2 separate regions of the Homo sapiens genome follow, and region 1 is linked to region 2. The links are contacts of gene promoters, found by promoter capture Hi-C in human tissues and cell types (Jung and others, 2019). All regions are on one chromosome and are shown on one strand. The core of a region is centred on a gene start or on the middle of the fragment in contact, and the rest is flanking DNA. Distances in the headings are between cores, read along the strand shown.

Region 1 (6,984 bases), core at 2,863-5,362, 85 kb after region 2:
TCCACTTCGAGGCAGATCTTCGGGAAAAAGAACAGCAATGGGTAGAGACATGTGATTGGCTTGCTCTTGTGGTTGTTTATCACTATTCATATAATTGTATTTTTAAAAGAGAGGCTTAATATTTTGTATTTTTTTTCGGTGTCTTTACTTTTAAGCTTTCAGTTATTTCTTATCAGGAAAGACCCACATTAAATAAACCTAATTTCTACCCAGAAGAAAAGTTGCACCCTTAAACTCTTGCCTCCATCTTGTATGTGCTTCATCCACATGCACACTTTTGAGTTTTCATCACTGTGTGTGAATATTTTTCTGTTTTTGCTAAAGAGAAATATTTTCATGAGGTTTTTGGCCTTCCCCATTGCTCTGTGTTGATTGTATTTTCCTTGTTCATCCTTTGCTGAATGAAACAAAGCTTGTTTGTGTTTCATTCTTCGCAGTTCTTATTAGAATTTGTGGCAGTGTTTTGTTTTGTTTTGTTTCATTTCCTTGCTTTAAGTCAAGAGAAGGAATTTTATTTATTTATTTTGACAAGATATAGTGAGAGACAATCTTGCCTGTTAAGATGCTAGTGTTTCTCATGTCACATTTTACACCCAAAAGCTATTCCAAGGGGAAAAAAAAAAGAAATCTTTTAAGATGGTTCATTTGAATCTGTGCACTCTACCCACCTGGTGGTTATATAGTGAACTGTTACTTTAAAGAGTAGTTTAAACACCAGCCATGTTTGGGGCAGGCTGCTCTTGCAAAGAGAGCAGTACATATAACAGGAGTCTACTGTGTGTGAGATAAGGGGAAAATTCAGCTCACTGACTAGAGGTTTTAATGTACGAACTCTAGGGAAATAATATATTGACTGTTCCGTGGTGCGCAAGAAAATTGAAGAACCCTTTGCAGACGGAGTGCTTTGCAAAGGATTCTATCTGTTTCTCTTAAAACAAAATCTGTGGCAAGATGTTTGAAATCAGCAGGACGCTTAATGCTGCTTTGTTAAATAATGAGGTAATATTTTGTCACTTTTTTCTGGGCAGCATCTGTTTTTCCCCCCTCTTCTTTTTTTTCCCTATATTTATGAAGGATTCCTTTTTTTCCGCCTCATGGAAGTCAAGGAAATACAATTCACGCTTCCATTTCTGTTCCTTCCTTTTGGTGCTTTTGGAGAATTTGGTTGTCTTTTTTTATTTGCAGTTTCAGCCGGCTGCTGTTTCCTAGCCCATTGTGCCACGTAAGGCTTCTCCACTGCGCGGAGTAGGTAGTTATTAACGCTGAATTGGCTTCTGGTACAGTCCATCTGGACTCTGTGTGGGAAAGCTGGCTGCCGGCGACTGATGCTGAGATATCTGCAACCTTTGGGATGTGTGCATGGTGGCAAGGGGCTGACTGATATGAGATTACTTCTTTTAAGGGAAATTGTCATTAATGAGTCAAGAAACTGCTCATTTATGGTAAGAGGAATACAGCGGCGCTGGCAGCCCCACAGTGCTGGGATATCATTTTTAGGTTGCCTTAGCTGCTTGAGTGAGACAAGTTTCTTTCTGTGGTGGTGGATTGTGGCAGAAAAAAAAAATCATGCATGACTGGGAGACTCGCCTGCCTGATTCTTGAGATAATATATTGAGAATCTGTTGCTTTACAAATGTCACATCACTGATGTAGCGGTCAGCCCCTCACTCTGAAAGATGAATTGTACTATTGGAAATGCGATAATAAGGTTGACTTTTCCCAACAATAGGATTCTGCCTTTGTCTTTAGAGAAAAGGCCTCTGAGGACATTTGTGCATTTGTTTGAGGATTCTGTTGAAAGACTTTAAAGTGGAGGTTTGTGGAAAAGTGATCAATATACAAAATGCATGAATTTTTAGCCTAGCAAAACCAGCTAGTTATTTATACTGTATATACAGCTACTATTTTGGAAAAGTGGCCAGAATACCTTTTAATATACCTAATGTTAATTTATGGTTCAATAAGTGTACTGAGGTTAGTATGGATGGGAGAAAAGGGTTTTTAAAATTTTTATCTTTTATAACCTCCAGAGAAATCTAAGTAAATATTTTGTTCCAAGTGAGCTGTTTTTATTTGTGTTTGTCAGCATTGTCTTAATGTTTACTTTTCACAATATTTTAATATTGGTGAAATTGCACTCAGAGTTTATGTTGTTGATTTGGGGCACACATACCTACTCTGTGTATATATGCTGAACCATTTAGAACACTTTAACCTGTGAATTCACCCTCAGTACACAGTTCAACAGATACTGTAGTACTATTGTGACTCACAGGACATTTTATACATTTGCTAAAGAAATTACTTTAAAAGTTTACTTAACTGAGTATTGTTCCACCTTAAGGAATTATAGTTTTAACATTTGTACTTTTCTATTTCATGTATTTTCATTTCTAATAGCTGAACGTATTCATACTCAAGTCTAATGGATTATGCAGTGTACCCAACACATATTGTTTTATGATGTATCTGTATTTTCTGAAGTGTGAATATATATGTATGTTTATATGTGTGTGTTCATGAAACAGCATCTTGGACAGAATAGTTTTAATCTTGAAAAATGTAAGGTTATTTTCTTTCCTAATAATTTTTCACAAACCCATTTATTCTTGGACTTTGAAACCCAGAAATATAGCTTATTTTTTGGTCTGTATGTCTACTCTGCCTAGTTCTGTCTCACTGTCAACTCTAGTCAAAGATTAAAGATTACATTGAATTTTGTATTTGGTAATATGTGTTACCACTGTGTATTTATTGAAGAACAAATTGATTAAATTATGAGTTAAATAAATAGTGACACATTAGTCTTTTGCATAGGTGTGAAGCATGAACTTCTCAGGTAAGCCACTTAAAAAACCCAAACCAGAACAAAAAATACACTACTGAAGGCTTGGTAGTGTAGAGGTTGTTAAATGTGTAAATAGGCAGACAAACTGTATACCTCACCATACACTTGCTAAATGTCTCTTTGCAAATCTCTTAAGAGGCCAAAGAAAAAAAGACATCCCTTTGAAGGAGAGAAGCAAAATCACTTATTTAGTTAAGCAAAATGAACACTCTGCACAGGTTTTGAAATGAGGCTGTTGTCAAAAGCATGTTTTACCTTTCTCTAAAGGGGTAGGAGAATGTGTTTTAGTGGATTTTTAAAAATTCAGATCATGTTCCTATCCAACTTGAAAAATAAATTCATTTAAGTAAATCATTCATCATCCTCAGTTTTGAAAAGCTCAGACAGAAGGCAGAAAGGTAGAGGCTGACAGCTGCCCCTCCCTTACCCCCACCATTTTTTTTCTTTTTGTTTATTAGGAAATAGTTTTCTGAGACAAACTTGTATGAACCTAGTTCACGGAGCAAGCTTAATCCCCAACTTGCTTGCTTTTGAAATGTTGGCCATGTTAGCTGGAGAAGGAGCATTACTTACTAAAAATCAGCAATATCTGGAAATAATAAAGTTAAATTGTAGATGAATTAGCACATTAAAGTGCTTTTGTTGTACCTTTAAGCCTACAGGCAGATCATTAAATATGCATTTCGCTAGAAAGCAACTGTCTAGAAAGATAAGGTGGTTGAAAATATTCTACGGTGGAAAAGCCCTCCATCAGAGAGGTGGCACGGTTCGGCCCTCAGGATGGGAAAAGAAGGACCCTCCCACTGTTAGTTTAGGTTTGCAAGCCTCCAGTGACCTGCAGTTGTTACAGTACTTTTGAGCTGGGAGGAGGGAAAAGGTAAAAATACAAGTATGGCTGTTGTTGCTTCAGCCGGGCCTTAATTACCAGACACAAGAAGCAGTTCAGAAATCTGGTCTCTGTTGTTGTAGAGGTCACCAAATCATTAACATCGTCAATCTGGCAGTAGCTAATTTAAATAGCACCTGATGTTGCAACGCCTCCCTTCGTTTCCCCAGCCAATCAGATCCAGGCTTCGGCTGACAGATGGTCCCATAAATGGATGTAAAAAGGGGAAGCTTCGAGCCAATTTCAGCAAGGCTCTGTTCAGTTGTTCTTATCTACATCCTAGAATCGGGGGTTTCAGCTCACTGCTCCTTTTCTTTTTTTTCTTTCTCTCCCCCGCCCACCCCCCCAAAAATAATTGATTTGCTTTACAATCATCCACACTGTGTTTTGTGGATCTTTAATTATATATAACAATAGTAGTCATTTTAAATATATATTCTGAAATCTTTGCAAATTTTAACAGAAGAGTCGAAGCTCTGCGAGACCCAATATTTGCCAATAAGAATGGTTATGGTAGGTATGACTAGATTTATAATCTGTTGTTTGTGTTGCTGGAGGGAAGAAAAGCATCTACACCTTGACCAGTCTTATGCTTGCACAAGAGTTTAGTTCTGTGCTGCTGTTTGGTTCCTACATTTACTATCTCTTTTGTGTAGAGAGTGCGGGTAGGTCCTTTTATTGAAAAGCAATGGGGATATAAGATTGTCATTTTTAGCAAGTCGTTGTCAGTTTTCCCTTCAACATAAAGGCAAGGGGTGGAGGGGGAGGGCTGAAATAATTGCTGGTTTATTGAAAGAGGTTATATTACTTGAGACATAATGGCAAAAGAAGGGTTTTCTTTTTTGTAAGGGAGAGGGGGTTTGTCTACGTGCCTGGGTTTTGTGGGGCTGGGGGTGGATGCAGCGGGGTTAGGAATCTCTCAATTTCCGTGCTGGAAATTTAAACCTCGAGAGGCAGCTCCTGGATACTGAACACTGAGATGGGCAGTTGTGTTTCGGGGGACTGCGCAGTCAAAACGGCAAAGAGAGTGATTTATTTGGGCTTCAGTAAATGCTGCATCTTGTATTTCAAAGAGTTTCCTGTCATGACCTCATAAAAAAGAGGAGGCGGCTTGTATGTGTAGCAGTGCCTGGCGTGTTGAGTTGTTGCTTCCTTCTCTGGGCAGCAGCTCTGTAAGAAGGAATGTCAGCTTTTACATAACGTTCCTTTCCGCTTTTGACACACTGTGTGAGGGTCCATCTTCTTCTGATCACAGATGGAGTGGAATGGCTTGAAGATGGTAAGTGAAAAGAGGAAGGCAGCCTGGAGGTCCCAGCCCTGTGTGTGTGTGTGTGTGTGTGTGCTTGTATGTGTGTATGTGTAAGGATGCTGGACTGTGCATCGTAAATCACTGTGCTGATCGTTTGTGTGTGTATGTATGTGTGTGTTTATTAGTATTTCTCTTTTCTGAAAACCAGAATCCATCTCCAAGTGTAATGGCACTGCATGCACACAAGGCACACACACTGCCTCTTCCAGCAAACACACATTTTAGCCAAGGAAGGTTGGTGTCTTTTTTGACAATCAATGTCACCGTCACTGTTGGCTGGCGTGTCCACCGCCTCTGTGAGCCTTCAACGGAATTACACGACTGCTAAAGTTAAAGGCACATTTCTTTTTCAGTCTCATGCTAGGAGTGATGGGGAAGGATGGGAATGAGGGGTGGAGGAGGTGAGATTCAGTACCAGCCGATGCAATTGTGAAACAGGACTTTCGGATGTGGAAGGGGAAGTGGAAAACCTTTCTGCCGAAGTAGTAAATCTATTTTTAGCATCATCTTTTTCTGAAAAAAGAAGCAGGGAAACTCCTTGAGTGCCGCTTCTGTCGCCTGATGTTGACCCTGAAGATATGGCACAAAATGGCATGATTAGATGCCACGAGTGCCCACTTTGACTTTGAATTTTCACCAGCAATAGGTTTCACAAGGTTTCAGAGCTGGGTATGGGGGCAGGCTGTAAATTCATAACCATCTTACTTATTTTTCCCTAGAAAAGCCTGGGGAGGACTTTTTGCTCTGCATAGATGTTATAACAAAGCTGTGGTCTTTTTCCCATTCTTAGAGGATTGCCTTTGTCTGGCTGCTTGTTTTGATGGGTGTAAAACAAATAAGATTAGACCGAGCAGCCCAACTGAAAGCGATAGCTGGGAGGAAAACCCAATGAAAGGTTGCCGGGGAAACGAACAGAGGAGAAGCCGAGTAGGGAGCAGGTGGCTATCATGAGAACACACTGCAAACAGTGTAAAAAAAAAGGGGAGGGGGACAGGACCTCGATTATCTTTGCTGTTCTTTGTGGCCAGCCCAACTTTAATTATTCGTTATTAATAGGTGTTAATTACATTTCTAACTCTGGTTTACAGTGATTTTTAGAAATCTATTTTTAAGCATCTGTTCTGTCTCCCCTGTTTTTGTGTGTGTGTGCGTGTGTGTGTGCGCGTGTGGTTTTTGTTGTTGTTGTTGTTGTTTAAAAAACCCAGAGAGGAGGTGAGGGGGAAGGGAGGGTAGGGAATCTTGCTTTTTTTTTTTTCCTTTTTCCCCCTTTTCCCTGGTGTGAAATTGTACATGCGAAAAATCGCAAGGAATCCTGTGAGACCATTTGAAAAAATGTAAATTATATTGAATGAAGTTGACGGAAGCATAATAGTGAACTCCCACAGCTGATAGGTTCTGCAAATGATTTCTTAGAAATTTCCAGCAAATATTCATAGGAAAAATATAGGTAGAATAGATCTACCCTAAGCAATGATTTGGGGTTAGGTGATTTTGGTATTTTTACTAAATCGGATGTTGATACTATAGTTTCAGGGGAATTCATTGTACCTCTCATTTTTTTCCTCAGTAGAAATTACTTTACAAAATAATAAATGAAGAGCTTTTTGCTTTCCTTCTTTCCCCATGCCCACAGTCACAGGATCCATCAGGCTTGCACTCTCATAACCACTGCCTTCCATTTGGCATTTGGTCCTGATTCTGGTCTTGGCACAAACTGAGTGAAAAGCTGATTTTTATATTAGTGTCTTTGGACGTCTGGGACCCATGTGTGCACTGGGTGACAAGCATCTCTCTTTTTTCTCTAAATGTGCTTTACTAATAGTCTCTTTTTCTCATGATGGTGGGTACCATAAGGATTGAAAGGTGTAGTATTTGGGTGAACAGGAGATAGCGTAAAAACAATTGAAATGGTGATCTGTTAGGGTTTTTTACTAAAGGACA
Region 2 (6,481 bases), core at 2,046-4,545:
TGTCAAAAAAACTAATCTTCTACTAATTCTTTGCAGATCTTAATTAAGTTGTCAACTTCTCCGTGCCAAAACTTCTCCACATATAAAACATAGAGAATACCTTAAAGAGTTGTTATGAGACTGAAGTAAAATGTATAAAGCACTTAGTACAATGCGTGGTACAAAATAAACACTTCATAAATGTTGGCTATTTCAAGTGAGATTAAGAAATTACCAGATGGCCATATTTTGTATCAGGTGACTCCAGCCAGCAATAGCTGGACACCTAATCTAAAACCAGTCAATCCTGACACTGGACTGTGATTTAGTGGTAAAAGACAATAAGGGTCAATAAAATTATCTCTCTCAGAAATTTGAATTAAACAAAGACTGAGGCATTATTTGCCTAAATGACCTGGCTTTTTACCATCATCAATTTTCTACCATCAATGTTACCAATGACCTCTCTGTTGCTAAATCTAGTTTTTTAGCCCTTCATTTTATATTGTTTGGCAGCATTCAGTCTACTGAGTATTCCATTTATCTTGAAACATTCCTTTAGCTGTGCTCTAATCTCTCCAGTCGCACCTTCTCAGTCTCTTTGGAAGGCATTGAAATATTGCAGCTACTCAACACTTCATCCCAGGCCTCTTCTCCCTCTAGGCAATTTCATCCACACCCATGGCTTGAGTAATTATTTCTATGTCAAAATAATTATCTCTATGCCAGTTTACACTTTTCTTGTAAATTCAACTGCCTTGTCAATCTCTCTGCTTATCTGGATGTCCTAAAGATACCTCAATCTCCACTTATCTAAAACCAAATTAATGATCTTTCCTCTCACACCTACCCAAGGCCCCTTCCAATGCTCCCTATCCCAATAATGGCACCACTAACTATCCAGTTGAACAAATTAGAAAATGAGAAGTAGTCTTCGATACTTCCTTCTCCATCATCCTCATATTTCACTAAGTCCTATTAATTTTATCTCCTAAGTATTTCTCAATTCCTTCTCTTCATCTCCACTGCTACCTTCTAAGGTCTCTCTATATGCATTCTTGTATCCTCTGTACTCTCCTCAATGTAGCTGGTGGAGAGTATATCCTATATCCACTCTTGTATCCTCTGTACTCTCCACATTGTAGCCAGAGTTATTTTTTAATTATTCTAATCATGGCATGCTCCCACTTAAAAGCCTTCAATGGCTTCCCATTATTCTTAGGATTTCTGACCCAAATTCATATCATATTCTACAAAGTACTGGAAGATCTGGCTTCAGCGTACCTCTTCTCTCTTCCCATTGCCCCACATGTACCCACACTTGTCTCCTTTCAGTTCCTCAAACACAGCATAACATGTTTCCACCTGCTTGGGTTCTTTGCACATGGTTTTCCTGCTGCCTCGACCACTCTTTGCCCTTTTTTTCAATTATCCAATCCCTATCATATGTCAGCTAAAATATCACTTCCAGACAATATCAGTAATTCAGTTATTCATTTAAGAAATCTTTATTGAGAACATACTATACACTTAGAAAAGTTCTAGACATGTGGTATTGATAAAACAATGCCCTTGTAGAGCTTACATTGTAGTGGAAGGAGACAGGAAATAAGCAATACAAGCAAGTAAATTAAATAGTATGTTCAAAGGCAATAAATGCTATGAGAAAAAAAGGAAAAGAAGAACAAGGTAAGCTCATCCAAAGCAGGGAATTTCCAATGCCTAACTTATTGCCAGGCATATAGTTAGCACTCGATATTTGTTGAGTGGATGAATGAATAAAGGAATAAGCCTGTTCAAGTTATGAGGGAGCTAAAACTATAAAATGAGTAGAGGAGCTACTCAATAAAACAGAGGTGCCATGAAAGAAAGAGAAATAATGAAGGCCTTGAGACATAATGGTTCCTCGAACTTATTTCTGAGGGTGTCATAGTTTTCAGTTCCAGTTTCTGGGGTGTGGTGTGTATGTACCATAACCACACACACACACACACACACACACACACACACACACACACACACACCAGGACCAAAGTAATTCAAGTGGATCACTCTTGTAATGATAATACCTGATCAGGACATATATACAAGGTTATGTATACCACTGCCAACACCCATCACACACATATTCCCAAAGCCACTTCTTTTCTACCCACACACCCATGCCATCCCGTAACATCCAGTTCTTCAGTGGTCAGCCTCATTTAGAGGCAAACTCCCTCCCACATACTCAAAACTGTAAAAACCTTTGCTTTCTTCTATGACCCTGTGAGAAACTTAAAGTCAGTATCTCACAAATCCCAGCCATATGCACAAGGGGTCCCCTCAGGAATAGGATCCTGGGTCTCCCTTCCTGTCAGTCTTCCTGTCCCTTAAAGGCTATCTTCTACCCACAGAAGTGTGGACATGCACTCCTTTGATTCTGAATGACCTTCAAGATCATTGAACCCACACACACTCACACTCACGCTCCAGCCTCCTTTGGTAGGCTCCTAAAGGACTGGGGCTCCGGGTATCCCCTCAAGGCCTCTTGTCTTTTTAAGGACCCATACAAGAATTATTTGCATAAATTTCTCTGTGACCAGGAGTGACCCTGAGGACACTGCACATCCCCAAACACAAATACTCTAACTCCCCCTTCCATGGCACTGTCTGATATTAAAGTAACACACCTTCCACGTATACCTCCCTCTTTAGAGTCAGAGCCTCCTACTCCCACCCCGAGCCCAAATCATGCCCCTTTAGGGATCTCTCCCATGCTCCCACAGGGCAGTGTACACCCTTTCCATGACACAGCCTAGCCCTAGGATTAGCCTTCACCACAGGTGATCCCAGGATTAAGATCCTGTCTCTTCCCTCAGGTCCCAGCCCCTTTCGGGCCCATGTTCTGTCAGAAGTGTGCACACTAACCCACACTCCCCTCCACCACCCGGACTTCGAGGTCCCTGCCCGCCATTCAGAGGGGTGCACGCCACCCTTGACCCCTGACCCTGAAGTCATAACCCACCGCGCAAATATACAGGACCGCCTCCTCAGGAGTAGGACCATGCCCGAGTCCCCTGTTGCCTGAGACCCAGGACAGCCTGGCCGCCTCAGCCTTCCCCAGATCGGCCGCCCCCACAGACCTGCCTCAGGCGCCGACTGGCTCCCCTCCGCCATTTTTGTTGTCCCTCAGTCTCCGAGCTCACGCGAAGACCGCGGGGCAGTAGGGAGCGGGTGGTGGGATCAGTGGGCTGACAGGAGCTACCTCAGGAAGACGCGGCACGACGGTTGCCTGGGCAACGGGCGGCAGGCGCGCGGGTGGCCGGCGCGCGGCTGAGGGCGGGAGGGACGCCTGGGAGGAGCGTGCGTCCAAGGCCCCGCCCCCGCGGCGCGAGCCCGGGCCTGAGCTGGGACTTGGGCCCCGGGGCGCTGCTCCTCCGCAACCGATCCACCGCATCCTGGCAACTGAGCAGGCTCCGCCACCCCTAGAGCACAGGGGCCAGGTCTGTAGGGATGGCGCTTTCCTGACGGCGACCGGGGTCCTCGTACTGACCGCCCAGACTAGCTAAACTGGCTTTTCTGTGGTTGGTGCTCAACTTTGGGGACTTGGGACAGGTTTCTTGATTTCCCAAAGCTTCTCCCCTTGGTTTGCCTGGGTTACTCGTCTTCAACTGAAATGCACTGAAAACCAACTGTGTGCCCACCCCAACCCAAACACACAGAGGCCCAAAGGGTTCTGGCTCCTTGCCCCTCTGCGACAGCAACCCTCAACCCCAGAAAAGACTTATCCTTTTGCTGACGTATTTTTCAGTAAATATGGGCTGCTGTTTCCCACCTTTCAGTAGTGACACGCCGTTATCGTCTAAAACCAAGCTGGAACATTACCCGTCCTGACCAGCTCTGCCCTCCCGCAGTCCCCTGTATATTCCCTCTATTCCAAATGCTTTATGCATTATTTCCTTCTCGACCATGAGCTCTCTGATACCTACGGTTGTTCTCTTATCTTTGTATACTCCATAGTGCAGCGTGGTGCATGACACAAAGTAGGATCTCAGTCAATGTCTGCTGAATGGAAAATGGTGGTAATCTGAAAGGAAATGAGGTGGAGAGAGTGAAAGAGGGAAGGGGGAAAAACGCTAAGAAAAATGTGTTATTGAGCTGATTGCTTTAGTAGACAACTATTTTTAATCTTGCTTCAGACTCTGAAAAACAGGGTAGAATGTGTGCCTGCCGTTGTCCCACTGAAGAACACAGAGTCTGGGGCATTTGTCTCCTAATTTCTGTCTCCATTGGTTGAGGGTTGCTCTCCACCTTCCAGCTTGAACTCTCTCACATTTCCTGGTTATGCTTGCCAGGGCTGAGCAGACTTCTAGAGTTTGAGAGAAAGCCTTGAGGCAGAAATGCAGAGACGGACCGGAAGGCCTTCTAAGTAAGATGCTGGCCACATGCATGGAACTGTCCATTCATCTGCATTAAAATCAGGGATAAGAATCTTGTACAGAAAGTTACATGAAAATAGCTATCAGAATTATCTCTCACATTTGAACAGTTTAAAATTCACAAGCCATGTCCACACAACTATCAAGATGAATATATATGTGCTTTCCACAGTCCTAATGACACTTATGTAAAGGCTGTGAGGGTTTTGGGAATTTCGGTGTCGGAGGAGTCAATAAGGGCTAAGAAGAACAAAAGAACTACATTAAGTATAGGGAGATGGAAAAATAAAGAGAAAGATGTGGGTTCTACTCAGACTGATGTTATAGCTTTATAATCTTGGGCAAATCACTTAAACTTACTGAGCCTCAGTTTCCTCTTCCAACAAACTGAGACAAAGGTCCTGCCTACCACAAAGAGTAGCTCTAAGACACAAATAGGGTGATGAATGAAAATGCATTTGATGAGTATGAGCCAGGCTCTGTGCAGATGCTGAGGATAAAGAGACAAATATAACATTATTAAATTGAACCACATTGGTCAATTTAAATTTTAAGTAAAATTTAGAACTCAGTTATTTAATCAGAATTGCCACTTTTCAAGTGCTCAATAGCTACATGTGGCTACTGGCTACCATATTGGACAACATATGTATAGAACATTTCCATCACTGCAGAAAGTTTTGTTAGTCAGAATTGATAGACAAATGCCTTACTGGGCAGAGGAGACGAAAAGCCTGGAAAACCAGCTTGCTGACAGGACCAGGTTCGGTTCTCCTCTGTGTCAGCTATTCCTCAGGAAGCAGTGCAGGAGGGAGTATAGACTTCTTCACTACTGCTGGAGTCTTCAGAGACTTCCCTTTTGTTGTGTGAAAAATAACACAGCATGGGAAGTGGGGGGAAAACGTCCCCTACATGGGCTCCTGGGAATTAGTTTCCCCGTGCTACCATTCATATGTCCCTGGGAGGTCTGTCTTCCCCAGAGACCTCCTATGATTTCTGTCTCCACAGAAAACACCCACCCACAACAAGGGTGCCTTCTTTCAAGCAAAATATACCCTGTAGGATTCACCCACTCCCTCCATAAACATTCATTAAAATGATACCTTCCATGTGCCTGGCCACTAAGTTAGATGCAGAATGGAATGAGAGAAATATTTAATTTATAATCATATTTTTACGAGCACAAACTCATTTCATTCTCAGAGCAGCATTATGATATTTGTATTAATATCAGCCTCTTGTACAGAAGATGAAATTGAGGCTCACAGAGTTTAAGTGACTTATACAAAGTTTCAGGCAGAAAGTAGCAGACTCAGGGAAGACTGAAATTATGCTAGGAAATTCATCTGTGTTATCTCATGTAATTTTCACATCAAAAATACCATGCCTTTGAAGTTTACAAACTAATTGGAAAGAAAGGATTAACATGCACAAATTCAGTTTACAATTAATTTCCAAACAATGTGGTAAGAGCAATGACACAGGCATGCTCAGCAAAGTGGAGGAGCACTAAAGAGAGATCCCCTTGATGGGCATCTATAGCCACAGCCCACCAGAAGTATTCAAAATAGCCAATCCTAAATGTTTACTCTGCTCTACCTTGCGATTCTCACAGAAATCCCAATAAAGGCTTTGGCCTAGGATTTCCCCTTGCTCCTGTGTTCTGACACCAAACCAAAACCTGGTGTTTCCCCTGTGACCCTTCATGGCATAAACTTCTTTCCAAGCCTTGTTCTCATTTACTCCTGTGGCCACACCCACTTAATCATACCATATCCAACATTTATATTCTTAGGACATACTTGTTATTCTGCTCTTTAATAAACAGGCTATTGTTGTTTACTCTTTCCATGTAAAATTTTAAATCAGCTTGCCTAATTGCAAAAAAAAAAAAAAGAAAAAAAGAAAAAAGTAATAATGTTGCTGGTATTTTATTAGAATTGTGATAAATTTATAGATTAATTTAGGGAGAAATGACATCTTTATGATACTGAGTCCTTTTATCCAAGTACATGATATATCTTATAATCTGTTTAAGTCTTCTATGTCCTTCAGAAATATTTAACAAATAGTTTTTTTTT

Evidence for each region. The method cuts DNA at HindIII sites, captures the fragments that hold promoters and counts their contacts. A contact is called where the count stands out against the background at its distance.
Region 1: a fragment that was not itself captured here is called in contact with the fragment with the promoter of AGBL4 in region 2 in 2 of the 25 tissues and cell types used here (dorsolateral prefrontal cortex and hippocampus).

Annotation. Positions count from the first base shown.
Region 1 is chr1:50,104,952-50,111,935 of GRCh38, forward strand. ELAVL4 (ELAV like RNA binding protein 4) reads left to right here and starts at 3,969. Exons shown (of 7, transcript NM_001144774.3): 1 at 3,969-4,247. The coding sequence starts at 4,239. RefSeq lists an enhancer at 6,012-6,192. The HindIII fragment of the contact is 4,459 bases long and covers 1,884-6,342 here.
Region 2 is chr1:50,020,659-50,027,139 of GRCh38, forward strand. It overlaps AGBL4 (AGBL carboxypeptidase 4), which reads right to left and starts at 3,296. Exons shown (of 14, transcript NM_032785.4): 1 at 3,105-3,296. The coding sequence starts at 3,138. LOC105378708 (a long non-coding RNA gene) reads left to right here and starts at 3,363. Exons shown (of 3, transcript XR_947311.3): 1 at 3,363-3,464. The HindIII fragment of the contact is 7,609 bases long and covers 1-6,481 here.